Linked DNA regions of Homo sapiens: all the other regions are linked to region 4. Evidence: promoter capture Hi-C in human tissues and cell types (Jung and others, 2019). All regions are on one chromosome and are shown on one strand. Each heading gives the region's core, a stretch centred on a gene start or on the middle of the fragment in contact. The rest is flanking DNA. Distances are from core to core; before and after follow the strand shown.

Region 1 (4,375 bases), core at 1,365-3,864, 410 kb after region 4:
ATTGGGAATGCTCTTGCGAAAGGAAAGGGCAAAGAGAGCAGCAGGGGCGCAGGAGTGTCAGCTAATTGGGGTCCCTGGAAAGAGCAGTGAGAGGCAGAGGTGTGTGCACCTCGGCATGACAGGAATTCTCTGGGAGTGGCATATGCTGACTGGACTTCACAAAAAAATGACCTAAAATGGTCTTGTGTCAAGTTCAAGTTTGCTTCTGTTGGGAGGTGGATTGTCAATAGAATGGAATTAAGAAAAGGGAAGGAGGATGAGATCGCAGCCTGAGCCATTCATTCTGAGTATCTATGCTGTAAGAAATTTGCCACTCTGATAATCCTTGGGGTGGAATGTAGCTGAGTGTGGCTGTCTCTTGTTCACTTCTCAACACTCTCGGGGATGATATTATCCCCATTTTAGAGATAAGGAAATTGAGGCTCAGAGAGGTTAAGTAATGTTTCCAAAGTGACACAGAAGGTATTAGAGAGAACTGTGATTTTAATCCTGGTCTGAAGTCAAAGTCCATGCCTTTTTCACTCTGATACCCTAATCCTTCCATCTCCTCTGCTAGTCTGGGAAAGTCCTGGTTAGAGCTCCACAAAGGGCAGAAGCAGAGATGGAGATGCTCAGAGTTTCCTGAAGAGGCAAACAGTTAGGCTGGCAGGAAGAGGGAGAAAGGGTGATACAGAGGGCCCTGGGGAGCTGATGCTGGCTCTCCAGGCTTCCACTCTGTCACTAGCAAGTCCCGGGGCACCTGGGAGTGTTGGGGACCAGAGACTGGGGGGTAACCAAGGGGAGAACTTGAGGAGAGAAGGGAGGGCAGCTTAGAGAAATGGAGGGAGGGTCAGTAGGGGGAGGAAACTAGAAAGTTAAAATAAAAATCTTATACTTGCAAGCATTTATCTGGGGATGGGAGGGTGTGTTGACTATACACTTATTCCACGTGCTGTCACTACTTAAAGAGTATTTCCAGAACAGCTGCCTCTTTGGGACATGCCTTCAGTTGTCCGTAATTTGTCCATTCCTTCCTTCCTTATTCACTCATTAATGCAGGAATGAATCAATATTGACTGAATATCCAACTTCCAGAACTCACTAGTCTGTTGAAGGTAGTACATCAATGGTAGCTAATAATTTTTATTTGGGGGTGGGTTCCATTTGGGTAAATAGTCAAATGGCATTCACAGCCAAGTCTGATGCTGTCACTTTGGGCTGGGCTTCCTAAGCTCACTGCCATATGTCCCTTATCCACTTTACCAAGTGGGCAAGCAAGGTGGGGAATGTTTATCTGTGTTTTATCCACTGTAATTCAAACACTAGCCCTGCAGACCCTGTGCTATGGGGATCTGCAGCTTTGCCCAGATGACTAGCAGCAGTCCTGGAGGATGGAGGCCTTGGCAGTGCTTGCATGAGTGGGGAAGCTCTAGTATGTCTTGTGTTTCTCTCTACCAGTGCTTAGCATGAGGGACGGAGGTGTAATCCTGCTCAGAACAGGAAAAAGGTCAGATCTTTAGAAAAACACAGAGGGAGATGGGAGCATTAAATGAAAAGTCTCATATAAACATAACTTTTTCATACTAGCATCACAGAGATAGGAGGATAAAAGGAGAAGAAAGAGAAAAGAGAAGCTGTGACTACAAAGCTTTGGAGGAAGAGCTGGAAGGACTTTGAAAGTGCTGCTGGGAACAGGTGCAGTTGCCCTGGGGAGGTGCTGGAGAGAAGCCTGGGGCTCCCACCAGGAGCCAGTTCCACCCCAGGATAAGGCTGTGGTGAGGCTATGAAGGCCAAGTTCCCCAGCGGCTGCCACAGCAAGGTTACAGATGCCCAACAGGCCAGAGCCAGCTGGCAGACATCAATGCAGCATGGAAAACATTAAGGGGAAGTGGAGGCATTTAGCAATGAAATGACTTGATACCTGGGATTTTTGTCAAACTACTGTTGGAGTTGAGGTATGCTGAAGCTAGGTAGTGAGTACTTGCCTAAGGGATTCCTTAGGCAAGTGTCTCTACTCTTGTTTCTTGTGCTTGAAATAAAAAGTTTCTAATAATAAGCAAAAGGTCTTTTACAAATAGGGGTGCTATGAAGAAGCCACACACTGCATATAGGATAATAGCAAAGGAATAAAAGCCATAGAATAGAAGCAGAAATCAACAAGAATTTTGTCTTGGGTTCTCTTAACTAACATTGCAAATCAGGAGTTCTTAACCAGGGAGTGATGGATGAGTTGCAGGGATCCCTGAGCTCTCTCTCCATAATCATGTGCAAAGTGATCCAGTAGTTTCCAGCAAGTTTTCAAGGAATCTCTTTTCCCCAGAGGTTAATAAATTGTATTCTCTCTTAAGTGTGCTATGCATGTATCAGTCACCTGGTGCGTGGTTTTTACATTGAAGGTTTCTTTTATAGAACTGGAATGTTCATATCTGGCTCCAGTGTTGTCAGCTCCCCTCTCAGTCAGCCATACCCGGAAGAGGGCGAAATTGCCTGGCTGGCTTCACAGCCCATCTCTCTGGTGACAGCTCCCAGGGTGCCTAAGCCCTTAGCTACAACACTTTAAGTGGAGGTAGGGGAGGGCTATGTCCCAGAGACAAGGGTACACAGTGGGGAGGTGGACACAAACAGGAGAGGTCTGGGGAGGTCACTTGGGGATCTCTGGGAGGCTTCCTGGGGTCTGAAAGAGTAAGAGGGGGTGCTGGGGGTTGAGGCTGTCCTCTTTCAGCTGCAGGTATGCAACAGAAATCACCGTGTTGACTAGTCGGAGGCTCAAAACCTAAAGACACCTCCCCACTCCCCAGAGAATTTCTTAGAAAACACCTTCCATTCTTCTCAGGGCAGAATAATACCCAGTCTGACATCCAGCCCCTTGAAGCTAATTCTTCCAAGAAGTGCAGCTCCCTAGAATGGACACAGCAGGCTGTCACTTGGACTTGCAGCCCTGTTGAACAGCAAAAGGGGGTTAGTTTAGGGGACATTCAGGGTCTCCTCAGTCCCTCTCTCGGAACCATGTCCACATTTAGGTCAAGGCTGGAAGGCCTTCCCTTATTTGCTGATACACGAAGATCTTTCTCTCCAGCCTAATGCATCACAGGCCAACATCAGAAGCACAGATTTGGCCCCTGGCCCTGAAAAGAGAGATGGGAGGAGAGGATGGAGCATGGGATCCAGGCACTGCTCTGTAGCTGGGGCTCTGAGCTCTACTCTCCATACCCTCCTTCAGAGGAGACAGGTGGGGACCGAAGCCATTTCCCCATCTCCCACAGGGGGACACAGACTGACAGGCAGTCAATGACCCTTGTTTCTGGGGCCTTGTCTTCTCTCCTCCAGGCATCTGAACCTTGCAGCTTCCCTGCCCCTCACTTGGCAGCCCTCCTGTCTCAGCAGTGGAGAGAGGTGGGGGCCCTGGGAAAGAGTTGCCCGTTCCTAGACCAGACTGCAGAGCTGAGGGCAGGGGAAGGGAAGGAGGTGGGATAGTGAAGATTGAGAAGGTCTGTCCCAGGCCAGGACTGGGTGAAGGCATGCAGCTGGTGTGCAGCTGTCTGGGCTCTCCTCTCCAGAGGCCTGCCGCCCCTCTCCAAGTCCTGCGTGGTGTTCTTCCTCCTTCGGAATGCTTTTCCCTCCCACCCTGGCATTCAGGGTCTGGACACCTCTCTCCAGCTCGTATCTAAGTGTAGGACAGGCAGCATGCCAGGAAACGCCCCAGGGGAGGGCCCCTACTCTTCTTTCTACATCCTTGCCCCCACCAGGACCCTGACTGAGGGCCCAGAATCCTGTTTTCTCCATCCCTGCAAACTGCCAAAGCAGCGGGAGGTGTGGGGCCAAGAGCAAGATGCTTGCTGGTAAATTTGGAGTTGCATCCTCATCCTTCTTCCTTTATTGTGGCCTCTTCCCTCCACTGCCTCCTTCCCTAAGGTGTCACATAACTTCCCCCCCCAACCCAACACTTGCTCGGCCTTCAGGTCGGGTGGCCTAGGTAGCCTCCTTTCTGTTCTGCTTGGACACTGTGGCCACCTCTGCCAGGAACCCAGAAGAATGAATTTGCAGTGGGGACTTTCAGAGACACACACCAGTCCAGAGAGATTCTTCCTAGAGTGGAACAGGACCTCCTTTTATTGTTCCCATCACCTCCCAGAAGAGCCTCACATGCTGAGGCTCAGAACGAGGGCCTGTGTGGCAGATTCCATAAAGAGGACCAAAGCTACTTCCAGTGGGCAAGCCTTGGGGCTGTGAGGCACAGCTGGCCAGAGTCCGAGAGGCACAGACCAATGAAGAAATATTTTTTTAAACTGTGCTTTATTTAGGGCTAAGCTGGAGAAAGCGTCATCCAATAGTTACAGAAGGTTACAAGGAGTTTTAGGGAGTTGAGTGTGAAAAGAGCAGTTGTACTGAACTGCAG
Region 2 (4,128 bases), core at 782-3,281, 430 kb after region 4:
GCTTAGGCTTCCTGAGGGCAGGGACCAGTCTCCTCTTCCTGACTCCTCAACAATGCCCAGCTCTGGTGGCCTGAGGCAGGTGAGTGGGGAGGGCAGGAGGGGAGCAAAAAGCAGGGTAGACAGAGAAGGAGTTGGGGCAGGACAGAGAGCTGGAGAGAGGAGGCGAAGGGGTGGGCAGGAGAGGGGCCTGGCTAGGTGACTGCCCTGCCCAGGTGTCACGCTCTGATTTAGCCTCGGGCTCAGGCCAGGCCACTCTCACCATGAGAGGAGAGGGGCTACTGGGGGAATGGGTGTGGCTGGGCTCTGCCTGCTGCCCCTCCTACCCCTGTCAAGGTGGCCCCTTTCCCTTCTCAGTAGGTTGGAATTTGTCTGGAAGAGGAAACCCATTTCTTGGACCGGGAGTGGGAGATGGGGAGCCAGGTTGTGTGGGTAGGGAAAGCCAAGAAGCAAAAGGAGTAGTGGGAGAGAGAAGGGTGAGATGAGGCTGGTGAGGGCCATGGAGCAGCTGGGGCGGGGGCAATGTGAAGGAGCAGGTTAAAAGCAGTCGGACACCGGTAGGTTGGTGCGAGCACCGCCCTGTCCTAGGTGAAGCTAATTGGTTTGTTATCTTTACCCACCAAAGCATTTACTTTGGTTAGTCGCCCGATCCACAAACACTTTCGAGGAGATGACATTACCGAAAGGGAGGAACATCTGCATCAGCTCAGCGTCCCCAAACTCCTGGGGCAGATGGTAGATGAACAGGTTACAGCCCTCGGGCCCTGCGGTGAGGGGAGGGGGTGGGCGGGGGAGGAGGGATGGCAGGGTGGGGGAAGAGAGAGACAGAGGAGAGGTGAGCGAGTTAGGCAGCGCAGCAGGGAGGGGTGGGGGCAAGGTTAGGAGGGGGAGTCTCATTCCAGATCCAAGGGCGCCCCAGAAGAGGCAGGGATGCTGAGCCCCGGGTCTGAGCTCCGGTCTCTGCTCTGCCCTTGGGCAAGTCACTGAACCTCTCTGTGCCTCAGTTGCCTTTTCTATAAAATGGATCTGTAGCAGAGGCTTAGAAACCCTAGGGCTCCAGAGGCGGAGTCGACCTACTGCTGTGTCTCTGGAAACCAGGTGCTGAAGATAGGGAAGGCCCAGGAGATCCGGGAGGCCTCCCTCCTGCCCTGCCCCTGCTCTGGGGGGACCAGGGCATCCCCTGGGGCAGCCAAGTCCTGTGCTGGGGAGACCCCCCACTTTCCCTTCTCGCAGGCCAGTCTCAGACTCTGGGATTGGGGTGCCCATCCTCCCCCTGGCCTGCAGCCTCTCTTTCTCATCTGCCCCTGATGGCCCAACTGTCCTGCCCAGTTCCACACACCCAGGAAACCAAGATTTATCCTGCCTCCTCCTGTGTAGGTGCGTAGGAAGCGCTGCAACTGAGGCTCTATGATTAGCCAGGGAACCCTCCAGCCTCATGACATGAAGGTTCTTCATTTCGTTACCACAGTAACAGCCCTGCGACTTCAGCAGCACAAACTATGTGTCAGGCTGTTCTGAGCACTTTACATGTCTCTAACTCACTTAATCCTTACAGCAACCCTGTGACATTATTATCATCATTGCCACTTCACAGATGAGGAAGTGAGGCCCAGAGAGGTTAAGTCACCTGCCAAAACACGCACAGCTGGGAGGGGCCTGGAGCCAGGACATGAGCCTAGCCTGTCTCCATAGAGTGAATTCTTTCCCTCTTGCTACCAAAAATCTCAATATCCCAGATCCCCTGAACACTATGCAGGGCTTTAGCTTTCTAAAATTCCCAATAACTAACCATTTACCTGTTTCTTTTGAAATAGTCAAAATGCTCAATTTTAACTCTTTAAAATGGAAATCGTTCCAAGATGCGTCTTAGATAGCATATGCCACATATAATTTCATCTTTTAAAGTGACTTGTGGTCATTTCAATGATGGTGTCCAAGCTGTGGTGGGAATGGGAAGGAACCAACTGCACCTAGTGTTGTGTAAGAAGCAAGGTTCTGACCAGAGGCTGCTGGAAACCTAGGCATGAGCTCAACAGTGAAGGCTGTAAGGCACCAACATGGGCCGCTGCATGGCTTTCACGCCAGAGCCAACCGTCCTTGTTCTCTGGGAGCCATGAGGCTGCCAGACAACCCAGTTCTGGAGTAAAGGTTCGATTTAGAGACTCTGCACCTTCTCTTCTGCTCCTCTACCTTCCACTCTCCTCCTTTTCTCCATCTATCTCTATTCCCTCAAGGTCCACAGCCTAGAACAAAAATTTCCCCAACCCCTAAAGCTGCCCAAGGAGCCACTGGCTTCCTCCCTCCTTGGTGCTCGCCCTGTGCCCTCTGCCCACCCCAGCCCTTCGGCCTCCCCTCCCTGGACTGCTGGCTCCCAGGCATCCTGCTGGGGGACGGCGCATTCAGAACCGGGCACAAACATGCTCCCTCACCCCCTTCCAGGGGTTCCTGGTGCTGGATACCCCCGAGCTCTGGTGGCCCTCCCCTCACCCTGTCCCCTCCAACCATGCTGTCTTCCCACTGGTTCATGCCCTGTGAATGTGCCCTTGGTGGCCCCCAGCTCCCCATACCCTCCCTCTCTGAAAGAACCTCCAGCCTCTCCCTGCTCATGCCCGAATCCACACTTCATCCTCTGGGGTGGGGCTCTTTCTCTTTTATGTCTAGAGGTTTTTCTCTCCAACCAGACTGGCTGCTCCCAGGGGCATGCTCCTTCTTGTGTCCTCCTGCCCAGCCCCCTCCAGCCCCCCCCACACCTCCCTTCCTCCTCCCATCCTCACTCTTCCAGGCCCTGACTGCTCCAGCCCATGCTGACACCTGCCTTGACTTGGGGCCCTGGCTCTGAGTTCAAGTTCTGCAAGCTGCTTTATGTGGAAGCTACATCTGTTCTCCTTAGAGATAAGGAGCCTTCACAGACAGGGCCCGCAGGCTCAATCCCACATGCGCGGTGTGTGGCGGAGCCCCAGGGATGACTCTCTAGCCCAGGCCTGACGAAGAAGCCAGGGCAGCAGCTCTAGTCCCTTCCCCTGGACAGTGAGCCCACACGCTGTCTAACTCCAGCTACCGCCAAGCCCTTCTGCACTCCCTCATTCACAGATTACAGAACATGCAGATGGCAGAGCTGGCAGGACTTTAGAGACCAATGTGGTCCAGCCCAGCCTTCTGAGAAATGGTGAAGCGGAGCTGCAGAGACAGAAAGCGGCTACCCCTGACCACCTTGCAGCCCTGGCAGAGCCGCTGCGGCAGCCATCCCTGAGGGCAACCTCATCCCATCTGTGGGGCAGATGGCCTCTGGGGAATTCAGGCATCTGTCTGTTTTCAGGCTCAGCTCAAAGATGAGGAGGTGGCAGAAGGGTCCTCCCCTGCCACCAGAATATCCTGGTATTTCCATGACATTCCACATGGGGAGGGGACCATGACATAAAGAAGCCAACTCTTGGCAGGGTTGGAGGAACACAGCCTTCTTTCTTGTTCATGACTCGGACAACTCTGTGGGACACGGCTTTGGCCAGGCTCCAGCCCACCTTGCGCCTGTCTCTCCCTGGCCCCATGCTCACCTTGGACTCTGCAGCAGCTGCACTTTTAATCCCGCTGTTCCCCCTGCCTGGACCTCCTGCCTCCCCAGCTCTATGTGCTGCCAACCTCTGCTCATCCTTCCAGACCCACAGAAGCCTTCCTGACAAACCACTCCCAGTGCCGCGCTCTCACCCGCCCATGCTGTGCGGCTCTGTTGGTATCGTGCATTACTCTTCCCCATCCCCTGCATCCCTGGGGTGGCTCAACCCATGGACCATGGCCTGGGAGAATGGGGACAATAGCAGCAGATCCTGCCACCCCAAGGAGAGGCTGGAGCCAGGACTGGCCACAGAGGGCCTAGACTAGGGAGCAAGGTGTGTGTGTGGGGTGGGGGAGGGGGGGGCAGGAATTGCAGCTGCTCAGAGATGGAGAGAAGGAATGAGGAGGAGTTCAGAGCTACACATATGGGATGGTGGAGTGTAGGGTGGGAGAGGGGCAGGAGGGCCCATGGGGGCCTCAGTTTAAGGCCTGCAGTAGGGGCTGTCATGTGTGTTGGGCAGGGTGCCATTGACCTACGGCTGTGTGAAGGGTGGGGCAGGATTTAGAGACCCCTGAGCCAAT
Region 3 (4,155 bases), core at 1,639-4,138, 350 kb after region 4:
AAAAAAAAAAATCAGAGTACTATGAAAATCAGTTACCAAGAAGGCATAGTGGTGGCTTTCCAGATTTCAGAATCAGGATTATTTGTACTGTTTTTATTTCAAAGTGTAGAAAAGACATTTTTTTAAATAGACTACATATCAGTCACATGCAAACTCTTAATGTAAGAGAAGAGCCTATTGTTCTTTATCTCAACAAACCTTTGAAAGTACCAAAGGGAACAAGAGTAAAAGCTCTTCCCCTGTCCACCTTAAATTCCAAGAATTTTCAAGACCTGCAAACAAGGATGGGGGTGAGACAGATGCCAGTGGGAGACAGGTTTTCCTTTGTTCTCTGAAAATACCTAGAAGAGTTCCATTTCATTCCATGTGCAGGTGAAAAAAACAGGTGTGGCAGAGTCATCTTTCTCATTCACAGTGTTGGTTGTTAATTGTTCTCACTGCTGGCTGTCAATATTATGTAAAATTTTCATTCCCCATTCAAGATGGAAAAAGTTGTGGCTGAAAATGTTAACATTTGCATTTTTATTTGTTGATTTATTTAAAGGACAACCTCTCCTACAGCAATCCATCACTTGGTGACACCCCAAATATGAATAATGTATTGTAGACTTGCAGTTACAATGTGTAATAAGTGCTAGAGACAGTAAAGGAATGTTAACTATGTTGCAAATATAATATTTATTAACTCATAAAGTTTATTGCTTTTAAGGTTCAATAATACTGACCATAAGACATCAATATCACTTATCCTGATTTTAGCTGGGCACCTTTGTATGTAGAAATATTCATCTATCTCATGCTAACAAAATAAATATGTAATTTACAGCATAAGCAAAGGGGGCATTATAGTTTTCTGTGCTGAAAGCTGCAGTGTTTCTTTCTCTCCATTTCACTTCTGGCTCTCCACACTGATCACACACCCCTAAGCTGCGTAAGAGAATAAGCACAGTGGTCATCTTGGCACAAGAGGGTGGTGAAGCTGAATTAAATGTACCATTCATTTCTGCTTGAATGGAACAAGCAATGCCCCACAGACCACTCCACCTGGAAAGAGGAGTTGAGGGGCTTTCTCCCTGTCATTCTGAACACCTCAGGGTAGGTGAGCCTTGGCTCTAAAAGAAACTTAAATAAATACCTTTCCTACCAAATGAATGAGTCAGAGTTTACCAAGTCTACTTGATCCTTTAGTCTCCAGTGTGAAGCCAGAGCTGGGCAAGTTACCATTTGCTTCTCAAATGAATGTGTTATGAGCACAGATATAACTGATAATTAACCATTTTGTGCCTTCTAGAATTAGGTGTGTCCATTGTCAACAATAAAGATCATACAGGAAATATATAACACTCAAAGCAAAAGAAGTAATGATAATTAGCAACCATCAGCTGTAATTGTCATCTACATTAAGATGCAGAATTATGTATTTCTTCGTTATAAATAGCCTTTCTAATTGTACTTGATGTATGCCAATTTAATCAAAAAGTATACTTGCAACAGGCAGAATTTGCATTAATGTAGCCTTGGATCTTCAGGTCTTTTATTTCAAATTTGACTGGGAAAGAAGGCCTATTACAGCTGTATATCCTTGATATGTTGGTGTCTTTTTCTATTCAGATGTGTAGATCTGATACATTTTATATTAAAATGAAGATAGTATCTTCTGAGATTGCTCAATGCAACAGAAATCTTGTCACCTTTAAAAATATTGGTGGAGTTTGTATTTTTCAGTCATATGGTGACACAGTGATTGTTGGACCCTGATAAGCAGAGGCACACCAGGCCTACAGTAGCAGGATTAGATTCTCAGTCCCTGAAGTAAAAGGTTACTAAGGTCACTTCTTTCTGTTCTTCTATGACTTCTACAAACAGTTACAGCTGGTGCTCTCCCTGTGCCTTTGTGTGTCTGTGTGTAAGATGTGAAGAAAGAAAGGGAGATTTCACCAAATCACGCCCAACTAGTGAATTTTCAGAACTGGAACTGGAATTAGCCTGTTTCTAGGATGTACTGTTCACTTTTTTAGCTTTTTTTTTTAAAGAAAGATGAGTTTTTAATGACAACACAAAAGCGTTAAAGGTTTTTGTTTTGTTTTATTTTGTTTTGTTTCTTTTTGAGTTACTGGTGGGGAGAGGTGTTGATTTTGTGAAGCTTCTTTTTTCTTGACAGGATTTGGGAAATACTTGAGTACATACTTTGAGGGACTTGATAAATTATTTGGGGGCTTTTAAAAAATAGTTTATTTTTATTAATTGACACATCATAATTACACATATTTATGAGGTACATTGTGGTGTTCCAATACATGTATATATTGTGTAATGATCAAATCAGAGAATCTAGCACATCCATCGCCTCATACATTTATCATTTCTTTATGGTGAGAACATTCAAAATCCTCTCTTCTAGTTATTTTGAAATACATTAGGTTAGTGCAAAAGTAATTGTGGTTTTTTTTCTATTAAAAATAATGGCAAAAACTGCAATTACTTTTGCACCAACCTAATAAAATGCAATATTGTTAGCCATAGTCACCCTACTGCACAATAGAACATCAGAACTTATTCCTCCTATCTAACTGTAACTTTGTACCCAATGACCCCTCTCTCCCCATGTCCCCACCTCCCACTCTTCCTAGCCTCTAGTATCACTATCATACTCACTGCTTCTATGAGATCAACGTTTCTAGATCCCACATACAAGTGAGATTGCTTGTTGGAAAGCAATTGAGGCCAAGTCAACCAGTTCAGTATTTGTTTTTTGTGCCCGGCTTATTTCACTTGACATAATATGCTTCAGGTTCATCTATGTTGCCACAAATGACAGGATTTCATTCTTATTTATGGCTGAATAGTATTCACTGTGTATATATACCACATTTTCATTATCCATTCATCCATTTATGGACACTTAGGTTGATTCCATATCTTGGCTATTATGAGTGCTTCAGTAAACATGAAGTGTAGATATCTCTTTGACATACCGGTTTCATTTCCTTTGGATACATACCCAGCAGTGGGATTGTTGGATCATATGGTAGTTCTTTTTGTAATTTTTTGAGGAGCATCCATACTATTTTTCATAATGGCTGTACTAATTTACATTCCGACCCAATAGTATATGAGAGTTTTCTTTCTCCAATCATTGCCAACACTTGTCTTGTCCGTTTGGTAACAGCCATTCTGACAGGAGCAAAGTGATATTTCATTGTGGTTTTGATTTGTATTTTCCTGATGATTATTGATTTTGAGAATTTTTTCATGTACCCGTTAGCCATTTTAATGTTTTCCTTTGAGAAATGTCTATTCAGGTCTTTAACCTATTTTTTTAGTCACTTTATTTTCTTGCTATTGAGTTGTTTGAGTTCCTTATATATTTTGCATAGTAACTTCTTATCAGATGGATAGTTTGCAAGTGTTTTCTCCCATTCTGCAGGTTGTCTCATCACTCTGTTAATTGTGTCCTTTGCTGTGCAGAAGCTTTGATGTAATCCCATTTGTCTATTTTTGCTTTTGTTGCCTGTGCTTTTGAGGCTATATCCAGGAAAGCATTTTCCTGACCAATGTCATGGAGCTTTTCCTCTTTGTTTGCTTCCAGTAGTTCCATAGTTTCAGGACTTACATTTAAGCCTTTAATCCATTTTGATTTGATTTTTGTATCTGATGAGAGATAGGGAGTCTAGTTTCACTCTCTGCATGTCTGCATGTGGATATCCAGTTTTCCCAGCATTGAAAAGACTGTCCTTTTTCCATTGTATGTTCTTCACACCTTTGTCAAATATCAGTTGGCTGTAAGTACATAGATTTATTTCCATGTTATTGTGTTAATAGTTTAGTTTGAGTTTTTTTAAAACCTTGCTTTGCTGTCAACCATATGTTTAATGTGTTCTGAAAATTTTGCTGTAAGCTCATGCCTTGCTGAGCTTTCTATAGTACAGTTGCCTGTGCACAGCCATGCTCACAAGGCAGCTGTTTAAACACAGCTGACTAGAAGGTGGCTTGTGTGATCTTTGGCCCACTGAGACTGAGAGCCAGGAACTAGGCTCAGAAGTATCTGAAACCTGGGACCATACTCTACCAATCCCAGTCTGGAAGGAATCTTCTCTCTGTTGTGAATACATTATTTATTTATCTTTATTGTTATCTTAAGTAACTTAACATGAA
Region 4 (4,003 bases), core at 1,346-3,845:
TGTGTGTGTGTGTGTGTGTGTGTGTGTGTGTGTGTGGATTCCTTAGGATTTTTTATATACAAGATCATGTCATCTGCAAACAGATAGCTTACCTTCTTCCTTTTCAATTGGATGTCTTTATTTCATTTTCTTGCCTAATTGCCCTAGCTAGAAACTCCAGTACAATGTTGAAGAGAAGTGATAAAAGTGGAATTCTTGCCATGCAGAAAAGAGTGAACATAGCAGGCCCGAGACAATAATCCTCAGAAAGGTCTGCCAATCGGGCTGCCAAAATCCTTTTGTTGTAATGAATCATAGCCATGAGTAGGACTATCTCCTGAGTCCTGTAATCCTTGCGTCAAATCATTGAATCTGGTGTGATCTTGGGGAACCCTAATACAATTTTTGTTCCTGATTTTAAGGGGAAAGCTGCCAGTCTTTCACCATTACATATGATGTTAGATGTGGGTTTTTCATAGATGTCCTTCATCAGGTTGAGGAAATTCTATCTCTATCCCATCCTATTTCTAGTTTGTTGAGTTTTTTTTAATCAAGAAAGGTTAGATTTTGTCAAATGCTTTTTTTATTAAGATGATTATGCAGTTTTTGTCTTATTCTATTAGTAAGTTGTATTATATTAATTGATTTTTTTTAAGTTTCTTTTTTTTTAGTGACAGGGTCTTGCTATGTTGTCCAGCTGGACTTGAACTGGGCTCTAATAACCCTCCCACCACAGCCTCCCCAGTAGCTGGAACTAAAGACATGGGCCACCATGCCCAGCTATTAATTGATTTTCATATGTTAAAACCACTCATTCCTAAATCACACTTGGTCTTGGACTTCTATTAAAAGAGACACAAATTTTAAAAATCAACCAAACAAATACATAATTTCAAGTAGTGAAAGTGCTATAAGAATAAAAGAAAAAGCAGGGTAAGGAAAGAGAGAGCAAGAAAGACGGCGGTTATTCGAACTATATTCAGGGAAGGTTTCTCTGAAATAATGACATTTGATCAGAGATCTGAATGACCTGAAGAAGCGAGACATTCAGAGAAAGATAATTCCAGGTGCAAGGACTAGCAAACTGCAAAAGCCCTGAAGCAGGAACCCGCTTAGTGTGTTTAAGGTACAGCTAGAAGGCCATGTGGGCAAGAGTGGAAACAAAGTCAGAAAGAGATGAGAGCAGATCTTACAGGGACTTGTGGGTCATGGTACAGACATTTGGATTTTATTATAATTGTGATGGGAAGGCACTGAAGCATGCTTTTCAGCCTTCTTAAAAGACCTTTCTCCTCCTTAGTTTTCTGGCTAACTCCTATATGTCTTTCAAAATCTAGCATCATCTCCTCTGTGACATGTTCTTTAACTTCCCTGGTAAGATCAGTCCCCTCCTCTGTGACATCTCTGAGTAACAGATTACTGACCTCTTTTCACACTCCTAGTGACCTCATTTGTTTATTTTTTTCACAGAACTGTGTCTTTTTCATATTTTTAACCTCACGTCTAACATAGTGGTGAGTACTAAAGAAACGTTTGATAGGCCAGGCGCGGTGGCTCACGCCTGTAATTCCAGCACTTTGGGAGGTCGAGGCGGGTGGATCACCTGAGGTCAGGAGTTCGAGACCAGCCTGGCCAACATGGTGGAACCCTGTCTCTACTAAAAATACAAAAAAATAGCTGGGCGAGGCAGGAGAATTGCTTGAACCCAGGAGGCGCAGGTTGCAGTGAGCCGAGATCGCGCCATTGCACTCCAGCCTGGGCAACAAGAGCAAAACTCTGTCTCAAAATACAAACAAGCAAGCAAACAAAGAAATGTTCGATAAAAGAAAAACTCTGAGTCATTCAGTGGTGCAAGGTTGGATTCCTTTCAGACCCGACGTAGTTGTCGCCCTGGGAGGTCGGGTGCATTACTTCCCCCAGAGAAAGGTCTTGGGTTTCGGGGATAATGCCCTGGCTGAGAATGCCTCCTAGGGGGAGATCCAACTTCCCAACCGTCAGGTGCTTGCTGTGTTCCCTTTGCACGTCTCTGCCCGTCCTTCCTGGGTGGGACCTTGGTTGGCGGTGAGTGGGGGAAACTTCAGGCTTCCCAGCTCTGCCTCCGAACACTCCTGGCAAACACTTTCAAGGCCTAATCACAAACCCAGGTCCCCCACTTTCCTCTGTAACAACGGAAGTCCCAGCAGCGATGTCCACTCCTGTTCTGGGGCCAGCGTCGCACCGCTCACCCCGCACCTCATCCCTCCGCTCCTCCTTCCTTCTCCTCCACACCCTCTCGGCACCGTGCCCCCTTTCCTCACCTAGGATGCGCGTGATGCCCAGGGTCAGCTTCTCCAGGTGCGGCTTGCTGCAGCCCAGCCCCGGGGACGATGCCTCCTCCTCCATGGCTCGCGACCGCGATTCGCGCGCGGCGGGAGCGGGTGGAGGGCCGGACCCCGCCTCAGCGCCGAGGCCAATTTCATGGCATGCCGGGAACGGTAGTTCTCGGCGCCTGAAAGCGCGGCGCAGTGATGATGGGGGCCCGGGGTTGGTCTGACAGCAGCAGCTCCGTGGGGCGCCGGTTCCCGCGGCCCCGCCCGGTGCCCCACACCGCACCTCCGGGACGTAGCTTCCCCTTCGCCCCCACCCTCTCGCCCCGCAGGGGCCGGCCGCGCAGGCGGGGGCGGGCCTCTGCGTGGTGCGGCCAATGGGGACCGAGCCTGCAGGCCGAGGCGTGGCGGCCCAGGCGCGACGCCCCGAGTGGCGGTTGTTTCAAGATGGCGGACGTGGCGGGCCCCTCCCGCCCCAGTGCCGCGGCGTTCTGGAGCCGGGACTGTATCCTTTGCCCGCCTGACAGGGGGCGCCGGCGCCCTCCACGGGACGGCGAGGGGCGAGCCGTCGCGTGGCAGTCCGAGAGCGGAGGAGAAGCTCCGAACTAACCCCGGGGATGGGGACGTGCTGCTCGGCCCCAGTCTAGGTGCTGGGCTCTCCCCTTGCTTGGGTGTTAGGTGGCCGAGAGACTGGTACTGTCTGCAGGTGTGGGGACACGGCTCAGATGCTTCCCAGCGCTCACTACCGGTGAGCTCGAGAAAGATAGCCTTGAGTCCAGGCTCAGTCCAGGGCTGAGATGGCCCTCCGAGGTCCCTCTGCCCACCCTGTCAGAGTGCCCCCAGGCTGACTTGAGTGTGCGGAGCTAGCTCGAAGTTGAGGGAGGAGTCGGTGTTGGCTGGACAGGGAGCCTTTTTGTTTTGATTTAGGATTGTCTTTAGTCTGCATTGCTAGGAGCAAGTCAGGACCTTTCGGACTTAAAAGGCCCTCCAGTGATGATGTATTTTAATACTGGGGTTTTAGGAGAGGTGTGGAGCTTGGTTACTGGGATGTGGTCTGGTGGTGCTGGTTACTGCGTAAGATGGGAATCATTGTGCCTGGAAGTATTGTTGACTTACTTGTGGAGTGCGGGTCACTGGCAGTCATTGAAGTTCTTGGATCGTTGTGAGGTGGAGAAGCAGTGGAACTTTTTAGTCCAGTGGTAGTATTACCAGTTCAGCAGCAGTGATGAGATGTTTGTGTGACAGGAGTGTTTCTTTCCTTGGAGTAGGTAGACTCTTCTCGCTTGAGCTTTGGTCCTGATAATTTACTTCACGTTCCTTAGAGGGGTTACTTGAAAGAGGGACGGCAATCTGTGTTACTGAGTGCTTGCAGAGGCAGCTCTTTTTGTGTTTGCTAGGATTGGTGATGGCATTAATTGAGGCGTTGCTGTTACCTTTGGCAGAATCACTGGGCATTCTTCTTAGCTCCCAGTGAAACTTACAAAACTGTGTTATCAACTCCTTTGTTGAGTTACTAGGATTAGTGTCATGTGTAGAGAGAGGGATATGTTTGTATTCTGTGCTGCTCGTGTTTAGTGTTTGCACTTACTAGACATAATTACCATTTGTCTCTGATAGGTTGGTGAAAAGCAAATGAAATCATGTACATACACTGTGGATGAAAGCATACTAGTGCAGTGTGCAAATTAAATATTTTTTCCTTTACCTTTCAGAAGAGA

Evidence for each region. The method cuts DNA at HindIII sites, captures the fragments that hold promoters and counts their contacts. A contact is called where the count stands out against the background at its distance.
Region 1: a fragment that was not itself captured here is called in contact with the fragment with the promoter of TPGS2 in region 4 in 3 of the 25 tissues and cell types used here (aorta, dorsolateral prefrontal cortex and thymus).
Region 2: a contact is called between a fragment that was not itself captured here and the fragment with the promoter of TPGS2 in region 4, in 1 of the 25 tissues and cell types used here (dorsolateral prefrontal cortex).
Region 3: a fragment that was not itself captured here is called in contact with the fragment with the promoter of TPGS2 in region 4 in 2 of the 25 tissues and cell types used here (dorsolateral prefrontal cortex and mesendoderm cells).

The regions. Positions count from the first base shown.
Region 1 is chr18:37,238,785-37,243,159 of GRCh38, forward strand. It overlaps CELF4 (CUGBP Elav-like family member 4), which reads right to left. Exons shown (of 13, transcript NM_020180.4): 13 at 4,256-4,375. Among named protein-coding and RNA genes, the nearest start is that of SNORA111, 230 kb to the right of the region's middle. The HindIII fragment of the contact is 8,692 bases long and covers 1-4,375 here.
Region 2 is chr18:37,258,504-37,262,631 of GRCh38, forward strand. CELF4 (CUGBP Elav-like family member 4) reads right to left here. Exons shown (of 13, transcript NM_020180.4): 11 at 678-761. Among named protein-coding and RNA genes, the nearest start is that of SNORA111, 210 kb to the right of the region's middle. The HindIII fragment of the contact is 7,935 bases long and covers 1-4,128 here.
Region 3 is chr18:37,175,596-37,179,750 of GRCh38, forward strand. The region is part of intron 9 of KIAA1328; the gene reads left to right. Among named protein-coding and RNA genes, the nearest start is that of SNORA111, 290 kb to the right of the region's middle. RefSeq lists a silencer at 171-465. The HindIII fragment of the contact is 3,747 bases long and covers 1,016-4,155 here.
Region 4 is chr18:36,826,407-36,830,409 of GRCh38, forward strand. It overlaps TPGS2 (tubulin polyglutamylase complex subunit 2), which reads right to left and starts at 2,596. Exons shown (of 7, transcript NM_015476.4): 1 at 2,277-2,596. The coding sequence starts at 2,361. KIAA1328 reads left to right here and starts at 2,721. Exons shown (of 10, transcript NM_020776.3): 1 at 2,721-2,790. The coding sequence starts at 2,733. RefSeq lists enhancers at 1,956-2,065, 2,166-2,958 and a silencer at 2,356-2,955. The HindIII fragment of the contact is 11,405 bases long and covers 1-4,003 here.